Linked DNA regions of Homo sapiens: region 2 is linked to region 1. The links are contacts of gene promoters, found by promoter capture Hi-C in human tissues and cell types (Jung and others, 2019). All regions are on one chromosome and are shown on one strand. Each heading gives the region's core, a stretch centred on a gene start or on the middle of the fragment in contact. The rest is flanking DNA. Distances are from core to core; before and after follow the strand shown. Region 1 holds the start of WFDC6 (WAP four-disulfide core domain 6). Region 2 overlaps WFDC2 (WAP four-disulfide core domain 2).

Evidence for each region. Contacts are between HindIII fragments. The study calls those that stand out against the background at their distance.
Region 2: a contact is called between a fragment that was not itself captured here and the fragment with the promoter of WFDC6 in region 1, in 1 of the 25 tissues and cell types used here (H1 embryonic stem cells).

What each region holds. Positions count from the first base shown.
Region 1 is chr20:45,538,130-45,540,805 of GRCh38, forward strand. WFDC6 (WAP four-disulfide core domain 6) reads right to left here and starts at 1,353. Exons shown (of 3, transcript NM_080827.2): 1 at 1,188-1,353. The coding sequence starts at 1,278. All of the region lies in intron 3 of EPPIN-WFDC6 (EPPIN-WFDC6 readthrough), which reads right to left. EPPIN (epididymal peptidase inhibitor) reads right to left here. Exons shown (of 4, transcript NM_020398.4): 4 at 2,497-2,676. LOC107987282 (a long non-coding RNA gene) reads left to right here. Exons shown (of 4, transcript XR_001754641.3): 3 at 407-550; 4 at 1,946-2,258. It also overlaps the pseudogene HSPD1P21. The HindIII fragment of the contact is 28,992 bases long and covers 1-2,676 here.
Region 2 is chr20:45,475,303-45,477,978 of GRCh38, forward strand. The region is part of intron 2 of WFDC2 (WAP four-disulfide core domain 2); the gene reads left to right. Among named protein-coding and RNA genes, the nearest start is that of WFDC2, 6.9 kb to the left of the region's middle. The HindIII fragment of the contact is 2,290 bases long and covers 191-2,480 here.

The DNA of each region.
Region 1 (2,676 bases), core at 103-2,602:
AAAGGAGCCAGTGCTCCCCCTCCCCGAGACCAGGGCACCCCTCCAGAGTTAGAGAACTTTGTTTCCACTTCACCTATCCCCAGAAGGTAGTGGCCCTCAGGGGGCTCAGGAATTTCACAACACTGCTCACATCCCCAACCCCATAACAACTCACCATCGGATGCCTAAACCAACCCCTACCCCCTACCCGCACCATCTATGAGATTCCTGAGAGAAAGACGCATTCCTCTAAGACTGTTCTGGTCACTCAGCCTTGCTGTGCTTGGTTGCTCCCCCAGGAGGTGCTGTGGCTCTCGATGATTGAGATTAACATTTCTGGCATCAGATAGCTGGGCTTTTGAATTCTGTGAGACGCTTGGTGTGCCAGGCACTCTCTCTGAGCCTTGATTTCCTCATTTGCCCATAGGGTTGCTTTGAAGACTAACCAGCAACACAGTTTGACAAGCCATCGTCAAACTGCCTGGGGCAATGTAACGTAACAATGAGTAATATGGATGAAGCACTTACTGTGAGCTGCCTTTTCTCCTTAATCCTCATTACAAATCTATGGGTAAGTACTCTTAATATTCACATTTTGTAAACAGAAGAATTGGAAGCATAAGGAGATTATGTGAATTTGCCCAAGATCACACAGCTACTCAGGGGTGGAGCCAGGTTTGAACCTACAATGTGTGGCTCCTGAGTGCTCACTTTCAACCACTAATTTTCAGTGCCCAGTACAGTTAGCTGCTAATTGTGAGTCTTCACATTTCAGCATTCCAAGGGACTTCTGGAGACCATTCTTTAACCCAAAGACCAGGGTCCTCTGTGGGTATGGGTGTGGGGGCTGCAATGAGAACATTTGGAAGTTGACACAGGTGGTGTTGTGGGGAGCAGCCTGTTTTTCTTGTGGGAGACTTCCTTGGGCTTACTACTCCTTCTTAGTTCATTTCATGAGCTCTAGGTCCAGGCACCTCCAGGAAGAACTCTTTGGAATGGCAGCAAGGAGTCACTTGCCACAGATTTGGATGCCTGTATTCACCAAGGGAGTCTCTTACCAAGAGACTTCAAATAGCTCCCCTCTTTCCCACCTGGAATTCCAGGCAGAGGTGGAGAAAATAATTTCTCAGCTGCAAAATTATTCTTTGTTCCTTCCTCCCCACTGAGTTTCCTTTCCCCATTGCAAGGACGGAGTTCCCAATACTTACTGCCAAGGATGCCTTCAGCGTGCCCAGGTTCCTGGATGTCCCCCAAAAGGATGAATGGTACCAGGATTGGCAGAAGTCCTGAGAGTCCCATTTTAGGAAGTACTGGCCTGGTTGATGGCACCAAAACTAAGAACTGCTCCTCAGCAGCTCCTACATCTGCACTTTGCCTGCCCCGGTGTGGCCCAGCACCTTAAGAGACAGCCCTGGAGACAAGCCAGCCAGACTCCCCGATCAGGAACACCAGATCCCTGAGGCCATCAGTGGGACTACCTGGTACCTACACTGGGGGATAGGTGGCTCCTAATCCTCAGCAATCTGAGGCTTTCTGGTCTACCAGGGAAAGAGGGCACATGTTGTCTTGGGCTTTCCAGGCTCCCTTAGCAGAAGGGGAGGTTTAACTCCAGAGTCTTCCATTTCCCAGGGGGAGTTTGCAGGTTAACAGTATGCTAGCTCTCTTCCTTCTTTCTAATTTCACTCTTCTCCTGACATGTCTATTCTTATGTTTTATTTTTCTCACTCTGTTTCTTCTCTTTTCTGTGCATCTGTATGTCTTTTACTCTGTGCCTGTCTTTTTCTCAGGGAGTCTCTGTCTGTCTGAGTCTCTTTCTCCCCGCCCTTCACTTCCCTCTCTCTTCTTTCGTATGTAAAGATCAGTTACATTTATCCTTTAAGTCGTTTGATTTTGCAACAGTAAATAACTTCTTTCATTACTTTGGGACTTCTCCAACTCTGTTCTCCGTTTTTCCCTGTTGTCACAGCTACAGCATTGGATTAAAAGTCACACCCTGAAGCATTAACGCTTGAGCATCTGTACCAAGTTTTATATCCTTGGTATAAGCCCGAAGGAGGTGAGGAGCCAGTTACCTGGGCATCAGTTCCATCTGGCAAAGGACTGTGGGTAATGGAAGCATTTCTGCAGGGTGGCAGCAGGGTGTGTGTGCAGCAAGGCATGTCATCAGTGGTGAGTGAGAAGTTCATTCCTTTTTATGGCCGAATAATAGCCAATGCACATTGACAGCCTCCTACCTCTAGCATCAGTCCCTAATTTTCTGCTGTGGGTTTTCTCTGGCCCCCAGGGAGCTTGTATAGCTTGCAAGTATAACAGTTTGAAAGAGCGAGGGATTTAGTATCCCTGGCATCCAGTGGGCGTTGGGAATCAGTGGACAAATAGCTTAGCTTTCCCATCACTGGAGACAGATTAAGAAAATTTGTGGTCTGATATCCAGAATCTACAAGGAACTTAAACAAATTTACAAGAAAAAAAACAAACAACCCCATTGAAAAGTGGGCAAAGGACATGAACAGACACTTCTCAAAAGAAGACATTTATGCGGCCAACAAACATATGAAAAAAAGCTCAACACCAGTGATCATCAGAGAAATGCAAATCAAAACCACAATGAGATACCATCTCATGCCAGTCAGAATGGTGATTATTAAAAAGTCCAGAAACAACAGATGCTGGTAAAGCTGTGGAGAAACATGAATG
Region 2 (2,676 bases), core at 86-2,585, 63 kb before region 1:
TTGTGGGCATTTAGTGCTATAAATTTCCTTCTAAGCACTGCTTTAGCTGTGTCTCAGAGATTCTGGTATGTTATGTCTTTGTTCTCATTGGTTTCAAAGAACTTATTTATTTCTGCCTTGATTTTGTTATTTACCTAGTAGTCATTCAGGAGCAGGTTGTTCAGTTTCCATGTAAGGTTATGCGGTCTTGAGTGAGTTTCTTAATCCTGAATTCTAATTTGATGGCACTGTGGTCTGAGAGACTGTTAGGATTTCCGTTCTTTTGCATTTGCTAATTAGTGTTTTACTTCCAATTATGTGGTCAGTTTTAGAATAAGTGTGATGTGGTGCTGAGGAGAATGTATATTCTGTTGATTTGGGGTGGAGAGTTCTGTAGATGTCTATTAGGTCTGCTTGGTCCAGAGCTGAGTTCAAGTCTTGGATATCTTTGTTAATTTTCCGTCTCATTGATCTGTCTAATATTGACAGTGGGGGTTAAAGTTTCCCACTATTATTATGTCGGAGTCTAAGTCTCTTTGTAGGTCTCTAAGAACTTGCTTTATGAATCAGGGTGCTCCTGTATTAGGTGCATATATATTTAGCATAATTAGCTCTTCTTGTTGCATTGATCCCTTTACCATTGTGTAATGCCCTTCTTTGTCTCTTTTGATCTTTGTTGGTTTAAAGTCTGTTTTATCAGAGAATAGAATTGCAACCCCTGATTTTTTTTTGCTTTCCATTTGCTTGGTAAATATTCCTCTATCCCTTTATTTTGAGCCTATGTGTCTTTGCACTTGAGATGGGTCTCCTGAATACAGCACACCAATGGGTCTTGACTCTTTATCCAATTTGCCAGTCTTTGTCTTTTAACTGGGGCATTTAGCCTGTTTACATTTAAGGTTAATATTGTTATGTGTGAGTTTGATCCTGTCATTATGATGCTAGCTGGTTATTTTGTCTATTAGTTGATGCAGTTTCTTCATAGTGTCGATGGTCTTTACAATTTGGTATGTTTTTGCAGTTGCTGATTCCAGTTGTTCCTTTCTATGTTTAGTGCTCCTTTCAGGAGACCTTGTAAGGCAGGCCTGTTGATGAGAAAAATCCCTCAGCATTTGTTTGTCTATAAAGGATTTTATTTCTCCTTCATGTATGAAGCTTACTTTGGCTGGATATGAAATTCTGGGTTGAAAATTCTTTAAGAATATTGAATATTGGCCCCCACTGTCTTCTGGTTTGCAGGGTTTCTGCAGAGAGATCTGCAGTTAGTCTGAAGGGCCTCCCATAGTGGGTAACCCAACCTTTCTCTCTGGGTGCCCTTAACATTTTTTTCTTCATTTCAACCTTGGTGAATCTGATGATTATGTGTCTTGGGGTTATTCTTCTCAAGGAGTATCTTTGAGGTGTTCTCTGTATTTCCTGAATTTGAATGTTGGCCTTTCTTGCTAGGTTGGGGAAGTTCTCCTGTATAATATCCTGAACAGTGTTTTCCAACTTGGTTCCATTCTCCCCATCACTTTCAGGTACATCAATCAAACATAGGTTTGGTCTTTTCACATAGTCCCATATTTTTTGGAGGCTTTGTTCATTCATTCCTTTTCATTATTTTTTCTCTAATCTCATCTTCATTCTTTATTTCATTAAATTGATCTTCAATCTCTGATATCCTTCTTCTGCTTGATCAATTCGGCTATTGATACTTGTATAGGCTTCATGACGTTCTCGTGCTGTGTTTTTCAGCTCCATCAGGTCATTTATGTTCTTCTCTAAACTGGTTAATCTAGTTAGCAATTCCTATAACCTTTTTTCAAGGTTCTTACCTTTCTTGCATTGGGGTTAGAACATGCTCCTTTAGCTTGGAGGAGTTTGTTATTACCCACCTTCTGAAGCCTACTTCTGTCAATTTGTCAAACTCATTCTCCGTCCAGTTTTGTTCCCTTGCTGGCGAGGAATTGTGATCCTTTGGAGAAGAGGTGTTCTGGTTTTTGGAATTTTCAGCCTTTTTGTGCTGGTTTCTCCCCATCTTCGTGGATTTATCTACCTTTGGTCTTTGATGTTGATGATCTTTGGATGGGCCTTCTGAGTGGACGTCCTTTTTGTTGATGTTGATGCTATTCCTTTCTGTTAGTTTTCCTTCTAACAATCAGGCCCCTCAGCTGCAGGTCTGTTGGCGTTTGCTGGAGGTCCACTCCAGACCCTGTTTGCCTGGCTATCACCAGCAGAGGCTGCAGAACAGCAAAGATTGCTGCCTGTTCCTTCCTCTAGAAGCTTTGTCCCAGAGGGGCACCCGCCAGATGCCAGCCAGAGCTCTCCTGTATGAGGTGTCTGTCAGCCCCTGCTGGAAGGTGTCTCCCAGTCAGGAGACACGGAAATCAGGGACTCACTTGAGGAGGCAGTCTGACCCTTAGCAGAGCTCAAATGCTGTGCTGGGAGATCTGCTGCTCTCTTCAGAACCGGCAGGCAGGCTGAAGCCACATCCACAGCTGCCCCTTCCCCCAGGTGCTCTGTCCCAGGGAGATGGGAGTTTTACCTATAAGCCCCTGACTAGGGCTGCTGCCTTTTTTTCAGAGATGCCCTGCCCAGAGAGGAGGAATCTAGAGAGGCAGTCTGGCTACAGCGGCTTTGCCGAGCTGTGTTGGGCTCTGCCCAGTTTGAACTTCCTGGTGGCTTTGTTTACTCTGTGAGGGGAAAACTGCCTAC